Linked DNA regions of Homo sapiens: all the other regions are linked to region 1. Evidence: promoter capture Hi-C in human tissues and cell types (Jung and others, 2019). All regions are on one chromosome and are shown on one strand. The core of a region is centred on a gene start or on the middle of the fragment in contact, and the rest is flanking DNA. Distances in the headings are between cores, read along the strand shown. Region 1 holds the start of GINS1 (GINS complex subunit 1). Region 2 overlaps ZNF337-AS1 (ZNF337 antisense RNA 1). Region 3 has its middle 36 kb from the start of ENTPD6.

The links. The method cuts DNA at HindIII sites, captures the fragments that hold promoters and counts their contacts. A contact is called where the count stands out against the background at its distance.
Region 2: a contact is called between a fragment that was not itself captured here and the fragment with the promoter of GINS1 in region 1, in 1 of the 25 tissues and cell types used here (spleen).
Region 3: a fragment that was not itself captured here is called in contact with the fragment with the promoter of GINS1 in region 1 in 1 of the 25 tissues and cell types used here (aorta).

Annotation. Positions count from the first base shown.
Region 1 is chr20:25,406,361-25,409,989 of GRCh38, forward strand. It overlaps GINS1 (GINS complex subunit 1), which reads left to right and starts at 1,313. Exons shown (of 7, transcript NM_021067.5): 1 at 1,313-1,535. The coding sequence starts at 1,461. LOC105372581 (a long non-coding RNA gene) reads right to left here and starts at 1,935. Exons shown (of 3, transcript XR_937403.3): 1 at 1,711-1,935. RefSeq lists enhancers at 1,355-1,604, 1,702-2,459. The HindIII fragment of the contact is 13,310 bases long and covers 1-3,629 here.
Region 2 is chr20:25,631,436-25,634,728 of GRCh38, forward strand. All of the region lies in intron 1 of ZNF337-AS1 (ZNF337 antisense RNA 1), which reads left to right. Among named protein-coding and RNA genes, the nearest start is that of ZNF337-AS1, 9.0 kb to the left of the region's middle. RefSeq lists an enhancer at 2,893-2,942. The HindIII fragment of the contact is 7,167 bases long and covers 1-3,293 here.
Region 3 is chr20:25,157,762-25,161,217 of GRCh38, forward strand. It overlaps the pseudogene NIPAL1P1. Among named protein-coding and RNA genes, the nearest start is that of ENTPD6, 36 kb to the right of the region's middle. The HindIII fragment of the contact is 4,080 bases long and covers 1-3,456 here.

The DNA.
Region 1 (3,629 bases), core at 63-2,562:
AGGGCTGAGGGGGGAAAATTACCTCAGCCCGGGAAGTGGAGGCTGCAGTGAGCTGAGATGGCGCCACTGCACTCCACCTGGGTAACGGGAGTTAAGACCCTGTCTCCAAAAAAAAAAGGCAATGTCATTATTCAACATAAGCCTGAGTAGGCCATTCCCATGCCCATTCCTTAGATGACATATCTACTGTATATTTGCAAAAGATCAACATAGTTTCTAGGGTTAGCTAGAATTAATCCAAGATTGCGCCGGTTGCGGTGGCTCATGCCTGTAATCCCAGCACTTTGGGAGGCCGAGGTGGGCGGATCACGAGGTCAGGAAATTGAGACCGTCCTGGCTAACACGGTGAAACCCCGTCTATACTTAAAAAATTCAAAAAATTAGCTGGGCGTGGTGGCGGGCGCCTGTAGTCCCAGCTACTCGGGAGGCTGAGGCAGGAGAATGGCGTGAACCCGGGAGGCGGAGCTTACAGTGAGCCGAGTTCGCGCCACTGCACTCCAGCCTGGGCGACAGAGCGAGACTCCATCTCAAAAAAAAAAAAATCCAAGATTGCTTGTTAGAAATTAACATTGCTTTTTGAAAAATTGCCTAATAAAACAATTCTTTAGCAGTGATTCCCATCTTCCATATGCTTAAGAAATATTCCATAACCATCTAGCCAAGAAAATTCCTAGTGAATTCGTATTAATCTAGGGCAGATATTACAAATATTTTTAAAAGACTATTTTAAAATCAAAGGGTGGTACTGTGGTGTTGGAAATGGAAAGCCTAAATAACAGTCTAATCACTCTGGAGCTGTGTGACCTTGGGCAAGTTACCTAACTTCTGTTTCCTTATTAATCCCGGGTCTTAAAACACTTCAGAGATAATTGTGGGAATGAAATACACACTGCAGTCCCTACCAGCACTAGGTACCCAATAAAAGAGAGTTTCATTTTAATATCAAACAGAAAACCCGCACTGCAAAACTGAAACCCTTGCGTCCTACCAATGCACACCAAGTTTTTGGGCCTTTCCTCTTAACCTCAAAGTGCTCTTTTCTTGAACCTAAACGAGAATGAATGAATCAAAAGGAAAATGACAAGGAAGCTGCGGGGCGTGCATTTATTTCCAGCTCTGCTGCCCGTAGAGTCCCCCGGCCCACTGCCTGAGAACTGGAAAAGCCGTCTCTGCTCAGCCGAGGGGTTCTGCCATCTCCGGGGCGGGGACCTCACCTTGGAAAGACCCCTCCCACTCCGCCCCTCTTGGAATGCGGCTGAGCGGTGGATGTCCCTTTTCGGGCGCCGTAGGCGCGTTCCTATTGGCTAGCTTTGTTCGGCGCCAAAGCGCGGAGCGGAGGCCGAGGCGAGAGCCTGGCGCTGTAGGACTAGAACGAAAGGAGTGAGGCGCCGAGAGCCCAGATACCATTTTGGCGTGAGAGCTGGTGGTTGGCAAGGCCGCGGGAGTGGGAAGCGTCCGCCATGTTCTGCGAAAAAGCCATGGAACTGATCCGCGAGCTGCATCGCGCGCCCGAAGGGCAACTGCCTGCCTTCAACGTGAGGGGCGGGTAGACTTGGACGGGGCATGCCGGCGTTGGGCCCTGGGCTCTGGGGCGGGGCGGCTCCCCGTCAGGGTTCACTTTCGCACCTTGTTCCCTCCGAGCTCCGGAAAACTTGGGAAGCAGCAAAACAAAATTCAGGAGGAAAGAGAAAGCATTCATGCTTACGCTACCCAGCGATTTGGTGAATTTCCTCATCTGAGCAAATTTTGCATTTTAGCAGTTTTCCTTGGACAGATTTGTTCCGGTCCCTTAAAATATTTACAGGTTGCCTGATAATTTAGCATTTCTTGCTCACTCAGGCATCTAATCGTGGTCAGTAAAAGCTAGGCCTCTGGAACCTGGCTGAGATTCTGGTTCTGTAGTGTGACTTTGGGGCAGTTACTCAAGCTTTCTGTGCTCTCAGTTTTCTCATACGCAAAAATGGGGATGGTGACAATAATAGTACCCAACGCATGATGTAGTGGACGCAAAATGAGTGGCATGTGTAAGGGTCTCTGCATATGCCTCACATACAGTAAGGGCTGAGTCAGTGTTAGCTATTAATATTACTTTTCTCCTGCTGCTGCTGTTACTATTAATATTATGATTATTTGTATTTTTCTATCACTGCTACCCCAGGGAGAGTGCTAAGCACTTCATGTACATTATCTTTTGTCTTTCTAATAACCCTTTGAGGGCCCGGTACCATGGCTCCTGCCTGTAATCCCAGCACTTTGGGAGGCTGAGGCGGGAGGATCGCTTGATCCTGCCACTGCATTCCAGCCTGAGTGACAGGGAGACCCTGTCCCAAACAAAACAAAAATAACTTTTTGATGTTTAAACTATTGTTTTCTACTTTTTTCAGCTATATATGCATAGGATTGGGGAGATTTAAGTATATTGCCTAAGGTGACACAGCAAGAAAGCTAGGATTTGAACCCTGGCACTCTGGCTCCAGAGCCTGCACTCTAAATTGTATATTTCACTTACGTCATAGAGCAGGCATTATGTGGATGTCAGGACACATTCTGCTGGAAGATGGGCACAAAAACAGATAATAGAATTCACCACGCTAAGTGATACTAAGGAGGTATAGCAAGGAGCACGAAGGAGAAACACCAGTATGAGCTGGGGTAGAAGAGGTGATATATGAGCCTTTCCATCCTCAAGGATGAGGTTACTGATCTGAGAAGGAAGCGAGGCATCCCAGCCAAAGGATGCTGCAGCACAAAGTCACGTGGTCACACTGGAGAGGGTGACCAATAGGGCCTGTGGGGAGTCTAGGAAGGTGGCTCACAGCCTACATGAATTTGTTGTTCACTTATAAGGCATGCTGGGAGCTGGTAGAGGATTTTAGACAAGGAAGTGATAGGGTAATTTTTGTGTTTTGAAGGTAACTGCGGCAGCAATATGGGGAATGGATTGAAGAGAGGAAAGAATGGGACAGGGAGATGGCTACTGGGTGGCTGATAGAGCAGGTGAGAGGTGTGTGGTCTGAACTGTGTCAGGTCAGTGGCACTGAGATCAGTGTTTGGGTTTTAGAGACATGAAGCAAACATGACTTGTAGCTATTAGAGCAGGGGCAGAGATGGGGTCCATAATGAATAAGAGGGAGGAATTGGGATCTTGGAGGATCCTTAGGAAACTGGGTAAACAACATCAGAGTTCAGGAGATAGAGTGTGTTGGGAAAGGTAATGAGTTTTGTTTTGAACACTAAAGAGCACCTAGCCAGACAATTAGATTGTCTTACAAATGAAGAAACTGAGCTGACACAAATTATGGGTCAAGTTAAGGAACTCGTCTGAATTTACAGCATATTGGAGGTAGAGCTTCAACTTGAACACAGGTTTTCCAGTTTCTAGTCAATTGTTTTTTCAACTTCAGAGCAGTTACCTCATTTAAAAAGTTAGGCAGCAGTCTGCAGCTCAGTAGAGATGCTTGAATGCAGAAGTGTGTAAATGCTAAAATGTGGCCTGAGAACTAGGAACTTTAGAGGTCATTGTACATATCAGGACACAGGCCTAGAGAACAGAGAGACTGTGCAAACAGGTGCGGCCAAGCTGGATTTTGGACCTGACTCTGACACTTAGTTTAGCTCTCTGTTTTACT
Region 2 (3,293 bases), core at 169-2,668, 230 kb after region 1:
CTGTGCAGAAGCTCTTTAGTTTAATTAGATCCCATTTGTCTATTTTCGCTTTTGTTGCCATTGCTTTAGGTGTTTTAGTCATGAAGTCCTTGCCCACACCTATGTCCTGAATGGTATTGCCTAAGTTTTCTTCTAGGGTGTTTATGGATTTAGTCTAACATTTGTGGATGAATGAGTCTTCGTGTAGCATTTTAAGGAGGGGAGATGTACAGACTCATTACAGATGAACCTGTTTGCTAAGCACAGTACTTAAACTGCCATTTTGATAGATTAACACTAGTAGTTAGAGGACATCTTCAAATTTGCAGGAAACAAGGTTTGAATAGAAGATTTGTAAGTCACTGTTCTCAGTGGCTCATGCCTATAACCTCAGCACTTTGGGAGGCTGAGGCAGTCAGATTGCTTTAGGCCAGGAGTTTGAGACCAGGCTGGCCAACATGGTGAGACCCCATATCTACAAAAAATTTGAAAATTAGCTGGGTGTAGTGGTGTGTGCCTGTGGTCCCATCTGCTTGGGAGGCTGAGGTGGGAGAATAGCTTGAGCTCAGGAGGTTGAGGCTACAGTGAGCTATGGTCCTGCCTCTGCACTTTAGCCTCGGCGACAATAAGACTCTGCCTCAAAAAAAAAAAAAAAAAAAAAGATTTTTGACTGTGAGACTTGATCTAGGAATGAATGGAAATGCAACTGTAGTCATGTTTCTCCTGCATTCTTCCATCTGCAGAATGGCACCATTGTTGTGCGGATGCTGATGCCCAGCGTTGAGCCTGTCGTCTCCTATATTAGGGGAAGTTCTCCTGGCCCTTCCCAACTACCTCCCCTGTGCAAGTTTATTACAACTGAACGGCCTCAAGGGCAAGTGTGCCTTCTGGTTTAAAGTTTTCTCAGATTAGGGCACTGTCAGGTTTATAGGGATGAAACAGAAGCAACCAGAAGAGAATCTTAGGCTCCCACATCTACCCAGCTACCGCCAGCCCTTTCTGTTGTTTGCTGGATCCCACCCTTACTGAGGGGCATCTTTCAGCAATTCTTTCCTCCTTGGTTTTGCATCTTCAAAGTTCTCCCACCCTTTGAATCCACTCCATTTAGCATTTCACTGACACCACTCCACCGAAACTACTCTTGTCAGGCCACCAATGACCTTCACCTTGCTCTTCAATCGCCATTTCCTGGCCTCTTCTTATTTGTCCTATCAGTAGCATTTGAACTAGCCAGTCACTGCTTTCTCCTTGATAAGCTTTTTTTTTTCTCTTTCTGTTTTTCTTTTTGAGATGGAGTCTCACTCTGTTGTCTGTTGCCCAGACTGCAGTGCAGTGGCACAATCCTGGTTCACTGCAATCTCCACCTCCTGGGTCCAAGCAATTTTCCTGCCTCACCCTCCTAAGAAGCTGGGGTTACAGGTGAGCACCACCGTGCCCAGCTAATTTTTGTATTTTTAGTAGAGATGGGGTTTCACTATGTTTCCCAGGCTGGTCTCGAACTCCTGACCTCTAGTGATCCACCCATCTTGGCCTCCCAAAGTGCTGGGATTACAGGTGTAAGCCACCGTGCCCAGCTGATAAACTTTCTTTACTTGGCTTTTGGGACACCACACTTTCTTCATTTTCTTCCCGGCTCACTGACTACTCTTCCTAGTCTCTTTTCTGGTTCCTCCCATTTCCCTGACTTTCTGGTATTAGAGTGCCCCAGGGCTGCTTAATTACACGCACTTCTTTGGTGATCTCATTCACTTTTATGACTTTAAATACCATCTGTATGTATATGCTGATGACTCAAAATTGTATCTTCCCTGGATTCTTAACACTTAGCTTGGCCAGAGGATAGAAAAGTAAATACAGCCAATTAATCCCGGAAAGGTGGTCAATCATACTCACATTTTAAGAAATGCAAATCCAAACTATAAGAAGATACCACCTACATATATGGGATAAGCAAAAGTTTAACATTTGACAGTCAGAGCTGGTGACCATGTAGGAAAACAGGCCCTTAGGTACTGGTGGAGGGAATGTAAATTGGTGCAGCCTCCTTTGAGAATAATTTGGCATAATCTGTCCCTTAAACAATCATTCCCACTGCTAGGAATTTACCCTTGGAAATACTTTCACGACTTTTACAGGATGCAGATACTAGAGCATTTCCTGCAGCACTGTATATTCAAAAGGGTGGAAACCACCCTTGGGTGCTTCAGGAACCACAAAATAAAATTTGGCATATCTGCAGGATGGAATACTATGAGACCTAAATGTAAACAGAGGAGATTCTTCTGCATGTTGGGGATCACAAGATTCACAATGATTTATAGAAGCTGCCAACCAAAGTTTTCTTGGGGCAGTTTCCCTAGAAGTAGGATGAAAAAAGACTTCCTTTCATGCCCCTCCTTTTCTGTCCCCTTATTACCGAAGAGTGAGTGCAGGAGGATAAAATGTGGAGGCCCCTGCTTCCTTAATTACTGGTCTAGTCACAGCCATTCTTGAGGCCCACTTTCTCCATGAAGTATTTTTTTACATCCCATGATCCCAGGCACTTTATTTCTTTAGTTCTCAACAGTATCCCCAAATTACCAGCCTGCATCTGTCATCCTGTATTTATTGCTGGTTTTTTTTCTTTTCTTTTAGATGAAGTCTGGCTCTGTTGCCCAAGCTGGAGTGTGTTGGCACCATCTTGGTTCACTGCAACTTCCACCTCCCAGGCTCCAGTGATTCTCCTGCCTCAGCCTCAAGGGTAGCTGAGATTACAGGTGCCTGCCACCACGCCTGGCTAATATTTGTATTTTTAGTAGAGATGGGGTTTCACCGTGTTGGCCAGGCTGGTCTCAAACTCCTGACCTCAAGTTATCTGCCTGCCTTGGCCTCCCAAAGTGCTGGGATTACAGGCATGAGCCACTGCACCTGGCCCATTTATTGCAAGTTTTTGAGAGCACTAATATATTTATTATTCTCCCACAGCATAGACCTGTGCCAAATACAGAATAAGTTTCCAAGCATTTGTTGAAGTCAGAAGTGAAAATAAGAAGACACCAAATGAATAATAACTAAACTAGAACACACTCAAATTAATACCAGCTGACCAACAAGGTTGTCAAAGTATTATCAGAATACCTGATAATTGCTACCTGGGCTTTATATACTTAGCTACAGTTTCCATTATTCAGAATTGCAGAATCCTGCTTTCCCTGTCCTCCAAAATATCTGAATAAATCATGCAGCAGACAATGACAGAAGTATAAGAAAGTATATGTCTTTCTCATACTGAAACTGCTATTTGTCATATTCTTTTTTTTTTCTCTCTCACCCAG
Region 3 (3,456 bases), core at 228-2,727, 250 kb before region 1:
ACTGAACCACCCTTGCATTCCTGGAATAAGTCCCACTTGGTTATGATGTGTACTCCTCTAAAGGTGTTGAATTAGATTTGCTAGTTTTTTGTATTTATACTGCTATGGACTGAATTGTGTTCCCCAAAAATTTATAGATTAAATTCCTAACGCCTAATGTGGCTGATTTAGAGATAGGGTCTTTAGAAGGTAATTAAGATTATTAAGTTCATAAGGCCTAATTCAACAGGATTGGTGGCCTTATAAGAAGAGGAAGAGAGAAATATCTCTCCCTCTCTCTTTTGTCACATGCACTCAGAGCTAAGGCCATCTGAGGACCGCAGTGACAAGGTGGCCATCTGCAAATCAGGAAAGAGCCCCCTCCAGACAACCTCACTGGGCCTTCATCTGGGACTTCCAGCCTCCAGTACTGTGAGAAATAAATGTCTGTTGTTTAAACCACCCAATCTATAGCATTTTGTTATGGCAACCCAACCTGACTAATATGTGTACTCACAAGGGATATGATCTATATTTTTCTTTTCTTGTGATGTCTGTATCTGGCTTTGGTATCAGGGTAATGCTGGCCTCAGAGAATTAGTTAGAAAGCTTTCCCTCCTCTTCTACTTTTTGGAAGAGTTTGAGAAGGATTGTTGTTAATTCTTGTGTGAGCACTACTTTGTAATCCTTAATGACACACATGCAGATATTCATATAATAAATCTTAAGATATCTACGTGATGACAAAGTATTGAAATACATACATAAACTACCAGGTAAGATTAACAGTCTGAATATAGGGGTTCAGCATTTTATTCTTCCTTAGACAATATCTTCTGTTTGGGAAAATAATTTTAGTGTTAAATTTGCAATAACATATTGTTTTTTAATGCATATGCCCAACAGTGATTTTTATATAGACAGTTTTCAATATTTCATTGTTTCTCCGCATACCCCAACTCATTAAGTCGTTCCCAGTCTTCCTCCTGGGCATGCATATATGTCAACACCAGTTCATTTTCCCATCCAGGGTACACACTGAGCCTTGTGTTTCAGGAACCTTTGACCTGAGCATAACATACCAAGGGCAAAATCTTTGTAACAGGTGACACAAATAAATATCTAAAACTTAAATTCACAGAGAACCACCACAGTTTCAGGTTGGATGTCAAGAAAACTGCCATTAATTTCCTCACCAAGAAGATGTCCTAGAGAAATCAATAAAGCTCTTAATACTAAAAGAAAAAAAATTAAATAATTTCTGCAGTTTTCAAATGCTATGTTTTCAGAAGATACTTTCACAACTCAGCCTCCTGACATAGCTGGGACTCCAGGTGCACACCACCACACTCAGTTGATATTTCTTACTTTCTTTTTTAGTGATGGGGTCTTGCAATGCCCAGGCTGGTCTGAAACTACTCCTGGGATCTAGTAATCCTCCCACCTCGGCCTCCCAAAATGTTGGGATTACAGGTGTGAGCCACCACCCAGCCAGAAGATACTTTTCCTACAAACTTGTGTTCATAGCTTATATGTCTGATATACAACTAAAGTGAAACAGCAATGAACGGAGTAAACACATATTTGATCTGAGGTATAATTCCATGGACCTTCCATGGATCATCAATTTTCAAAAATTTAGAATGCATGGAATCGTACTCAACACTACACTGTGCTGAAAGACTACAATGGCACATTAGGGCCTTGCAGCCATCTCAGGTTGTCATTGTGAACATTGGTCATAGTTTAATAAAACTGGGGAAAAGCTGAAGTCAGCTTAAAAGAATTCTGAAGAATAAGATTTACTATTATTACCTTGGGAAGACTTGAGCTACCTTAGAAACAAGAAACAAAACCTAATAACATTTAAAGTTACAGCAGAAAAAATCCAGTCAACCTGAAATTTTTTTTAATGACAACTTTTCAGTTAGAATTTTTGTTTTGAGAAAAATAAGCTTAGTATAGAAATAAGATAAGAAAAAGACATAAGAGATAAGAAATAAGATAAGAAAAATAAGTTTAGTATAGAAATAAGATAGCCAATTCCTTTTCCATAAAATCAGTAAGTGATAGTAAATCTGTCCATTATGTTAAAGACCACCAAAAATGGAATTGCTGCCATGCATTTGAAATAGGAAATTGTTACGGACATTTTAATGTGCAAAAGGTTTTGTCCTGCAGTAGCCCCTGAGGCATTAATATTTTGTTTTGCAGGAAGTTGACTCTCTATTAGGATATACCTATTTTTAAAGATTAGTAACTAATCATAATTTCCTTAATAAGGGAGGAAGTACCAAATTTCAAGACAGCCGTTAAGATAATTCATTCAGATTTTTCACAAAGAATTTTCTAGCTGTTTCCACACAGTCTATGGAAAACTCACCCTTTAGGGATAAAACACTTGAGAACAATTGAAGTGTACAGTATAATCCTGAAATAACCCAGTGATTATTTTACAAAAAAATCTCTATGTCAACAAGAAAAATAACCTTTGGGATAATAGTAAAATAAAGGAACAAAATGAACATAAGTGACTCCAAAGCTGAATTTACCTGAACTTCTTCAGAAACTTCATTTTATGTCATCCAGGTCTGAGTTAATTAAAGGGACCTGTGAAAACAATAGCATGTGTGTTGTTTTTGTGAAAAGAAAAAAACAGTTTCCTTTATTTGAGGTCTAAAGTATTTTTCTCTTCCTCCATTCTTCCTCTTTAATGGGTAGTAAATTCTTACGATATGTCAGTAAGTTACAATTCATAAGCTCTTCACGGGTGGGTATGTCTTGTGTATTCTAGCCCATTAAGGAATAAATTTCCACAGCAGGCTTGTTTTTCCCTTAAGATAATTAATTAGCTAACCAGTTTAGGAAGAAAGAAGTTGCAGAAGGGAGGACAAAGCACCGGTGATCTCACTTCTCAGTTTCAATAATTTGAAATTATGACTCATCAGAGAAAATGACTGATACTCTGCTTATCAGAACACTGCTAACTTTCTATTGATGAATGTAAGTCATAGCCACCAAGGAAAAAATGAAGAGCCACCTGGCAGAGACAAATATATTGTGGCCAGAAGAAAGAGACTATTCTGAGACACACATAGCTCTTTGACTTCTTTGATCCCTAGGGAATACTTCAAAATTTGCAGAAATGAAAAGCAGCAGACGTCTTCTGGAGGAGAATCAATCTGATTTTCAAATTTAATGGCCAAAAAGATGGCATTCGTACTTGGCCTCACATCTAAATTAGTTAGAACTTCAAAAATGCTAACTTTCCTAGTTCCAAGAAGCAAGCATTCATTTTCCTCTTTGACTGTCTCATACTGGTTAAAATTCAGTGTTTCTAGAGACTTCAATCATCAGTTCTGCTAAACAAGGTAACGTTATCATTGTATCCAGGGCTGAACACTCCAAGTTCTCTAGTAAAACAGGACTGCTCTCATTGCCATTCAGAGAGATGACTTCTTTCTTAGCAGTGGATGT